Regions from separate parts of the Homo sapiens genome. Here region 2 is linked to region 1. Evidence: promoter capture Hi-C in 16 types of primary human blood cells and fetal thymus (Javierre and others, 2016). All regions are on one chromosome and are shown on one strand. Each heading gives the region's core, a stretch centred on a gene start or on the middle of the fragment in contact. The rest is flanking DNA. Distances are from core to core; before and after follow the strand shown.

Evidence for each region. The method cuts DNA at HindIII sites, captures the fragments that hold promoters and counts their contacts. A CHiCAGO score of 5 or more calls a contact.
Region 2: a contact is called between a fragment that was not itself captured here and the fragment with the promoter of KLHL24 in region 1, in 1 of 17 cell types (fetal thymus). The highest score is 5.6, in fetal thymus.

Annotation. Positions count from the first base shown.
Region 1 is chr3:183,633,371-183,638,268 of GRCh38, reverse strand. It overlaps KLHL24 (kelch like family member 24), which reads right to left and starts at 2,646. Exons shown (of 8, transcript NM_017644.3): 1 at 2,476-2,646. It overlaps LOC107986162 (a long non-coding RNA gene), which reads left to right and starts at 1,660. Exons shown (of 2, transcript XR_001741042.2): 1 at 1,660-1,734; 2 at 1,985-4,106. RefSeq lists silencers at 1,241-1,570, 1,621-1,940, 2,131-2,200, 2,211-2,320 and an enhancer at 2,741-2,800. The HindIII fragment of the contact is 5,143 bases long and covers 1-2,999 here.
Region 2 is chr3:183,119,522-183,123,996 of GRCh38, reverse strand. It overlaps LAMP3 (lysosomal associated membrane protein 3), which reads left to right. Exons shown (of 6, transcript NM_014398.4): 6 at 1-1,782. Among named protein-coding and RNA genes, the nearest start is that of MCCC1, 22 kb to the right of the region's middle. The HindIII fragment of the contact is 3,732 bases long and covers 1-3,415 here.

The DNA.
Region 1 (4,898 bases), core at 1,397-3,896:
ACGCAGAATTTATTTCTTCTTCCTGTTTAGAGACTTAGGTTGCTGGCTTTGTTTGAATAAGCAAGCCTTTACTGAGTGATGGTTTTACTTTTTCAAAAGGTTAGACGATTGCATTTTGTACTCATTTAGATACATTAAATACTCTCAATGCACAAGTGATGAGGCGGTTCTGATCACAGGAGATGCTCATTCCGGTGTAACCATCTCCTCTGGAATTTTAAAGAATGCATAACCAATAGGAACTGTTCATATTCAATTCCTGCTTCATCCAGGGGAGCTCAAACTTCCTTCTACAAAAATGTATTGTCTTTGCCAGGCACGGTGGCTCACGCCTGCAATCCCAGCACTTTGGGAGGCTGAGGCGGGCGGATCACCTGAGGTCAGGAGTTCAAGACTAGCCTGGCCAACATGGTGAAACCCCGTCCCTACTAAACATACAAAAACTAGCCGGGCGTGGTGGCGGGCGCCTGTCATCCCAGCTACTCGGGAAACTAAGGCAGGAGAATCGATTGAACTCGGGAGGCGGAGATTGCAGTGAGCTGAGATGGCCTGGGTGACGGAGTGAGACCACTCCACTCCAGCCTGGGTGACAGAATGTGAGACCCTGTCTCAAAAACAAAACAAGTGTATTAAGTCTTGAGTGAATTCCTATATCTGCAGAAGAAAATCTGACAAAACGCAAATACCCTATTAACTCAAGCGATTAGAAAAACCATTTTCAACACACTATGGCTAAAAATGATTGGTCTTGAAGATTTTATTACCGTCAGCTTAATGTACAATTTTAAAACGACACAGTCGCAACCCACTTCTCAAACATTTTGAATTACCACGGGAATTAAAACATAGAAGTGTGTGACCTAGAATCCCTCAAACAAGGAAAACAACTCATCCGAGCCGAGTATGGAAGAATCTTTACTTTTTAGGGGAGTATCTTCAAACTATCTTTTTTAAATAGTAGAAATCTGCTTTTAAATCTCAGCCAACAACAAGCAGATTTTAAATCTATTTTACAACCCTAATAAAAACCAACCTCTTAGCTGGTGGACCCAGTCTGTAGCTGCAAATACAAAGACGTGATTTTTGAAAAGCTGCCCACAAGAGCAAGTGATTAATCATTAAAATCCACTAAAATCAATTGTGAACAGCCACTGCCTCAGGGGTGACCGTGGGGCCCCCTAAGATGTGGCACTGTGATCTATATTTAGCTATCTAAACACGTTTACAGAACTGGCAACAACGTGTTCGCAGGACTTCCTGCGAACCACCCGGCAGATAACGCGACACTAGTTAAAGGGTGTTAATTTTCCGGTCCTCGGAGGGCAGGCCACGGTAGCCGATCTCTGCGTGCCCAGAACTGCCTGCAGGATCAGGCAGCAGCAGCGGCGGCGGCGGCCACCGAGGCTACCAGCCGCCCGCAGCAGGGGCGGGAGCGCGCGCCTCCCGCACCCGCGCCACCCGGCTCCACTCGGGCCGCAGCTGCAAAAGCAGCGACAGCGCGCGCTCCCGCGCGTCCTCCAGATCACCTTCAAGGGGGCGGGAAGAATGGCCCAGGGCAGGCCCACCTAGTGACAATAAAAACTCGCCAATAAAAACTCGAACTCTCCCTCGGGTACCGCCCACAAGCTGCCGCAGGCGCCCAATCCCCGCCGCGTTAACAGTCTTCACCCGGGGTGTCCAGAACTTGAGGGCGGGTCCATTAGGAACTAAATTAAGAAACTGAGTCCTGGAGTGGTAAGAAGGTGGGGAGGTTAGGCGGGGACTGCGCCGGCGGAACGCCCGCTCCCCCGCCCGCCCCGGCTCCCCGGGGACGGCCGCAGCGGGCCGGGTGTCGCGATCGTGGTAAACAAAGGCTCGCAGGGGACGGGGGCGGGGGTAACGGTCAGGTGACAGTGCCGAGTGCATTTCGCAATCGCTTTAATGGGGCTTCACGGGCCCGCGGCCCTGGGGACCCCACCTTGACCCCGTCATTCCTCCCGGACAGAACCGACGGTCGTCCCACCAAACAAGAAGGCTGGATTTGAGGCGGTCGCACTCCCCCGGGCTTCCTGAAATAAAAAGCAGCGCCCCGTTCGCAGCCCATCGGCAACAAGCAGCACCCGTCTGCCCAGCCGCCTCCCCCGGCGGCGCCCGGCCCCGCGGCGACTAGCCTACCGCACCTGCGGCTACCCCCAGTCCCGGCAACCACCCCGCCCTAGCCAGGCCGCACCAGCCGCGCCGCGGTTCCGGGCCGTAGTGCCAGGAGGCGCGCGCGCCCTCCCTCAGGGCTGTAGCTACCAAGCGGGGGAGGAAGACCCCCCAGGTGAACCCTGGAGGCCCCTCGCCTCAGAAAGGGGCCCTGTAGCCCAGCTGCAGCCTCTCCGCAGACCGCCAGTCTGGCTCTGAGAGGCCGGCCGCCGCTGGCTGCCCTCCCGCAGACACCCCGGTGGTCAGGACCGCCGTCGCCCCTCCGCCCCCGAGGACTCAGACTCTGACCGGTTCCTCGCCTTTCGGCCGGTCCCGGAGCTGTCACCCCCGGTACCTCTCGGCGAACACTGGAAGCAGCCAGCAGTGGCTAACCCCGCGGTCCCTCAGCGGCGGGCGGCGCAGCGCACTCTCCAGCGCCGGCGTCTCCTCCAGCCACCAGTCTCTGCCGCAGCTCACAACAAAGGAAACATGTGACCGTCCGGGCCAAAACACTGAGCGTCAGCGAACCCTGGCCAATCCGGGTGGGCGTCCTCCGCCCCGGGGAACCCTGGGAGATGTAGTTCACGCTTCCCGGTGGCCTCCGGGGCCACCTGGGGCTCCCGCCGTGGGGTGGGTGTCGGGTGCCCAAGAGGACGAGACCCACCCAAAGGGCTGCTGACTCAAAAACACCTTGTTTTAAGCAGAGACAGTTAAAAAAATGCCTCTTGTGTAAGGAGCCGAGTGAGAAGCCAGAGTCGTTTCTTTCCTTCCCTCAAAGGCCCCTGCCACGTCCCAAGGAAAAAGCCCGCGATCAGCCCTTCGACTTTAAAGCTTGGGTCGAAGCTTAGAGAGCTTTTTATTTGACCCTTTGATAGACAATCGGAAATCAGGCCTGAGGGCCTGCAGGGTGGACGAGACTAAAACCCCAGTCCTTAGAAGGAGCAAGGAAAACCACCTCTTTTTTTTTGATAAAGCTGTTACTGTCCCTGGTATCAAATCCTAGGTTACCTTTTTATTTTAAACGCACATGCACGTCGACCAAAGCTGTCACAAATCCCTGTTTTCCAAGGTAGATGGAGTTCCTAAAGGACATTGTGTTGTCGTTTTGTGTCTGCAAGCTTTTTGTTTTGTTTCGTTTTGAGACAGAGTTTCGCTCTGCCACTCAGGGTGGAGTGCAGTGGCGCAATCTCGGCCCACTGCAACCTCTGCCTCCCGGGTTCAGGCGATTCTCCCGCCTTAGCCTCCCGAGTAGCTGAGACTACAGGTGCCCGCCACCACGCCCAGGTAATGTTTTGTATTTTTAGTAGAGGCTGTGTTAGCCAGGCTGGTCTCGAACTTCTGGCCTCAAGTGATCCGCCTGCCTTGGCCTCCCACAGTGCTAGGATTACAGGCATGAGCCACTGCGCCCCGCCTGCAGGTATTCTTTTAAAGGATGATTGCAACCATTTAACTAGTTTTTGGTTTCTGATACCAAATTTAAAAATCTCTATCTTCTACATGTCATGAATACCGTCATGCCTCTATTAAATTAGGCGTTGTGTTCTGATGACCAGAGGCGGAAATAATATGGAAGGCCTATATACAGGCCTTTTAAACATACTTTTTAGGCCTCTTTTCCATCTCTTATTCAATTATTTGAGCTATTTCTTCTGGTATTTATATATTTCCAAATAATGTATGACTATTTCCTATTAAGGAAGCTATCCTTCTCATAATCTGGTTAAATCATTAATGTTTACGCTAATGAGACCATGTATTTATTATTCATTGTTGAGACAAATCGTATACAATTTCCCATCTTGTATGGCTTTTGGTTTTCCTTGGAGTTTTAATAATTATCCTCTTTCTTTGCTTATTTTATTATGGATCTATCACAATGTCCTCTTAGTTTTTCTAAAACGATAAAATGCTTTCAATACAACTCCATATAATCAAACCCATCAGATAATCCATCGTGTGTGTATGTGTGTGTGTGTGTGTGTGTGTGTGTGTGTGTGTGTGTGTATCTGTACTTTTTTCTTAGAGTCATTGGTCCGCAGTTCCAATGACTGTTTGGGAAGCTTGCTTCTCTGTCTTGGGTCTTCCCTTCTCCAGCATCCTAGCATTTTCTTCTGTGATTTCGAGCATTGCCTCATATTTTGGTAGAGCACATTCCTCTTAAATAGCTTCCTAAGAAAAGGTCCATGAGAAGTAAATATTTTTGAACTTTTCATGTCTAAAAATATCATCACTCTATTTTACCTTTGAATGATGATGTTGCCTAATCATACAATCTAGATTATAAATTATATTTATTCGGGATTTCGAAGATACTGCTTTATTAACACCTAGATTCTGGTATTGCTGTCGAGAAGTACAATGCTGTTCTTACACTGATTTTTTATATTTGTTGATGTATGCTTAATAATTCCCGCTCCTCAGGAGGTAGCTGCTGAATAGGTTCACGTGGTCTTCTCTTAGCAGCTCCTTATGAGCACCCCAGGCTCACGGATTAGCCTTCTTCAGTTTTGTTATTCCTTGTGATTTAAGACAATTTCTGGACTTTGGAACTTTTTTTGTGTGTGTGTGACGTCTCACTCTGTCGCCCAGGCTGGAGTGCAGTGGTGCAATCTTGGCTCACTGAAGCTCCGCCTCCCGGGCTCACACCATTCTCCTGCCTCAGCCTCCCGAGCAGCTGGGACCACAGGCGCCCGCCACCACGCCCGGCTAATTTTTTGTATTTTTAGTAGAAA
Region 2 (4,475 bases), core at 300-2,799, 510 kb after region 1:
GTGTGGGTCCTTCAAACAATGTAAACCACCATCTTCTATTCAAATGAAGTGAGTCATGTGTGATTTAAGTTCAGGCAGCACATCAATTTCTAAATACTTTTTGTTTATTTTATGAAAGATATAGTGAGCTGTTTATTTTCTAGTTTCCTTTAGAATATTTTAGCCACTCAAAGTCAACATTTGAGATATGTTGAATTAACATAATATATGTAAAGTAGAATAAGCCTTCAAATTATAAACCAAGGGTCAATTGTAACTAATACTACTGTGTGTGCATTGAAGATTTTATTTTACCCTTGATCTTAACAAAGCCTTTGCTTTGTTATCAAATGGACTTTCAGTGCTTTTACTATCTGTGTTTTATGGTTTCATGTAACATACATATTCCTGGTGTAGCACTTAACTCCTTTTCCACTTTAAATTTGTTTTTGTTTTTTGAGACGGAGTTTCACTCTTGTCACCCAGGCTGGAGTACAGTGGCACGATCTCGGCTTATGGCAACCTCCGCCTCCCGGGTTCAAGTGATTCTCCTGCTTCAGCTTCCCGAGTAGCTGGGATTACAGGCACACACTACCACGCCTGGCTAATTTTTGTATTTTTATTATAGACGGGGTTTCACCATGTTGGCCAGACTGGTCTTGAACTCTTGACCTCAGGTGATCCACCCACCTCAGCCTCCCAAAGTGCTGGGATTACAGGCATGAGCCATTGCGCCCGGCCTTAAATGTTTTTTTTAATCATCAAAAAGAACAACATATCTCAGGTTGTCTAAGTGTTTTTATGTAAAACCAACAAAAAGAACAAATCAGCTTATATTTTTTATCTTGATGACTCCTGCTCCAGAATCGCTAGACTAAGAATTAGGTGGCTACAGATGGTAGAACTAAACAATAAGCAAGAGACAATAATAATGGCCCTTAATTATTAACAAAGTGCCAGAGTCTAGGCTAAGCACTTTATCTATATCTCATTTCATTCTCACAACTTATAGGTGAATGAGTAAACTGAGACTTAAGGGAACTGAATCACTTAAATGTCACCTGGCTAACTGATGGCAGAGCCAGAGCTTGAATTCATGTTGGTCTGACATCAAGGTCTTTGGTCTTCTCCCTACACCAAGTTACCTACAAGAACAATGACACCACACTCTGCCTGAAGGCTCACACCTCATACCAGCATACGCTCACCTTACAGGGAAATGGGTTTATCCAGGATCATGAGACATTAGGGTAGATGAAAGGAGAGCTTTGCAGATAACAAAATAGCCTATCCTTAATAAATCCTCCACTCTCTGGAAGGAGACTGAGGGGCTTTGTAAAACATTAGTCAGTTGCTCATTTTTATGGGATTGCTTAGCTGGGCTGTAAAGATGAAGGCATCAAATAAACTCAAAGTATTTTTAAATTTTTTTGATAATAGAGAAACTTCGCTAACCAACTGTTCTTTCTTGAGTGTATAGCCCCATCTTGTGGTAACTTGCTGCTTCTGCACTTCATATCCATATTTCCTATTGTTCACTTTATTCTGTAGAGCAGCCTGCCAAGAATTTTATTTCTGCTGTTTTTTTTGCTGCTAAAGAAAGGAACTAAGTCAGGATGTTAACAGAAAAGTCCACATAACCCTAGAATTCTTAGTCAAGGAATAATTCAAGTCAGCCTAGAGACCATGTTGACTTTCCTCATGTGTTTCCTTATGACTCAGTAAGTTGGCAAGGTCCTGACTTTAGTCTTAATAAAACATTGAATTGTAGTAAAGGTTTTTGTAATAAAAACTTACTTTGGAGATTTGTGCATGTCATTTATTTTTTATGATTCATTTTTGTGCTGTATAAATTTTGTTTACAATCATCTTAGGTTTTTGCTCCGATCAATAAGTTAAATCATCTTTCTATAATTTGTTTCATTCTATTCTCCATTGCCACATTATCACTTGGTAGGAATTCCTGAGAAGATAAACCACATTAAAGTTACATATGAAATGTCTCAACTCTTAGCTTAGACTGACTGCATTACTAGTTTGCTTAAATGTCGCCACGTTTGTTCATTCATTCATTTGATCAGCATTGATAAGGATTTGCTAAATGCCAGATACTCTTGTAGGAGCTGAGATAAATAAGAGGTCCTATATTAGTTACCCATAGTGATCTGAGAGAAAGAGAGAGAGGGCTGGGAGCGGTGGCTGACACCTGTAATCCCAGCACTTTGGGAGGCCGAGGCAGTCAGGTCACGAGGTCAGGAGTTTGAGACCAACCTGGCCAATATGGTGAAACTCCGTCTCTACTAAAAGTACAAACAAATTAGCTGGGCATGGTGGTGTGCACCTGTAGTCCCAGCTACTCGGGAGGCTGAGGCAGAAGAATCGCTTGATCCCGGGAGACAGAGGTTGCAGTGAGCCGAGATCATGCCACTGCACTCCAGCCTGGGCGACAGAGCGAGACTCCATCTCAAAAAAAAAGAGAGAGAGAGAGACTGACCAAGATGAAAGCCGTCATATTTTTATAACCTAATCACAGAAGAAACATACTATCGCATGTCTGTTTATGGTTCACACAAACCATCTCTGGTACACTGTGGAAGGGGACTACACAAGGGCTCGAATATCAGATTTTAGTCCATTCTGTGCCATTATCACAGAATACCACAGATTTTTTGATAACTTACAAGCAATAGAAGTTGATTTGGTCATGGTTCTGGAGCCTGGGAAGTCCAAGATGGAAGGGCCAAATCTGATGTGCATCTTCTTGCTGCCTTGTAACATGGTAAAAGGCATCACATGGTGCGAGGACACAGAAGAGAGAGCAAGAGGGGGCCCCACACTTGTAATAATAGCATTAATCCATCCACGAGGGCAGAGCCATCATGACCCCACTGCCTCTTAAAGGTCCCGCTTCTCAACACTGTTGCATTGTAGATTAAGTTTCCAACATATGGTTTGGGGGACACCTTCCAACCACAGCGCCGGGAGAGGGAGGAACCCCTGGAGGCAGCGTGGATGCTGCCTACCTCAGGTGCCTACTGTCAAGGTGAACATTGTGGAATTCGTGGTTTACTTTTTGGAGGGAACTTCAGTAAATAAATTCCAGTATATATACTAAGATAAGTGGATTAATAGGAACATATACAAGGGATGATGAGAGCAAGGCCCTTTCCAGCCTGCTTCCAACCCTGCCCCAGGTGTAGCACCTCCTCAGGAGCACAGCCTCCCAATCCCTGGTGATGAAGGTCCATTGACCACAGGGTCTGGTGTTGACCCATTGGTCTACAGCACTGACGTCACGGCTTCACCTTCCTAAAAGAAAGTAGCCAGGATGGCTCCAGCCCCTACCCAATCTGCCCCACCTTTGTTCTTCTCACACTTTTCTTGCTTTGTAAGGTCCTAGATCCCCCCTCTGGACTCCTGTTTGGGGCTCTAAGCTTGAAGGCCAAGAAGGTCTGAGGACACAAATACATGAGCCACTCCTTCCTGACCCGGGTCTTGGTTCTCTAGGATGATTTGCTGTGAGGTTTCCCTCTGCCCACTAAGTAAAAGGAATATAAACTATAAAAAGAATGGAAGAAGAATCTCTGCCAATGAAAAAAGAGTTTCATTTTATAATACTCCAGCCCCTCGCTCATCAACAAGTCCCTTCACCCCACCTTAGTGCCTCCAAGAGATGCCAATTTTGGTCAAGTGTTGGCAGGCATAAATAAGAGATGTTTAGGCCAGGTGCCATGGCTCACACCTGTAACCCTAGCACTTTGGGAGGCTGAGGCAGTTGGATCACCTGAGGTCAGGAGTTTGAGACCAGCCTGGCCAATGTTGTGAAACCCCATCTCTGCTAAAAATATAAAAATTAGCCAGGCATGGTGGTGGGCACCTGTAATCCCAGCTGTCTGGGAGGCTGAGGCAGGAGAATCATTTGAACCTGGGAGGTGAGGTTGCAGTGAGCCAAGATCGTAGGACTGCCCTCCAGCCTGGGCAACAGAGTGAGACTCTGTCTCAAAAAAAAAAAAAAAAAAAAAAAAAAAAAGAGATGTTTTATTTTGTTTTTAACTTAACTAGTTTTATATTAAGACCAAGATTGACTAAAGATAAAATTGTGAAATAAATTCTGTTATCAAAATTATAAAATCTCTTTTGCTTTCCAGATATTCCCTCATGCTGTCCTGGCAAACTTTCTTCTTAAGTGCTCATGTATTCTTCTAACTTCCTCATACCTCCACCAGCCCCACCACCCCACCCCAACATGCTTTGGCTGACCCCAACAATGTTATTCACTCACTCAATTCCATTTTTTTTTTAAACGGAGTCTCACTCTGTCACCCAGGCTGGAGTACAACGGCACAATCTCGGCTCACTGCAACCTCTGTCTCCTGGGTTCAAGCAATTCTCCTGCCTCAGCCTCCTGAGTAGCTGGGATTACAGGTGTGCACCACCATGGCCAGCTAATTTTTGTATTTTTAGTAGAGACGGGGTTTCACCATGTTGGCCAGGGT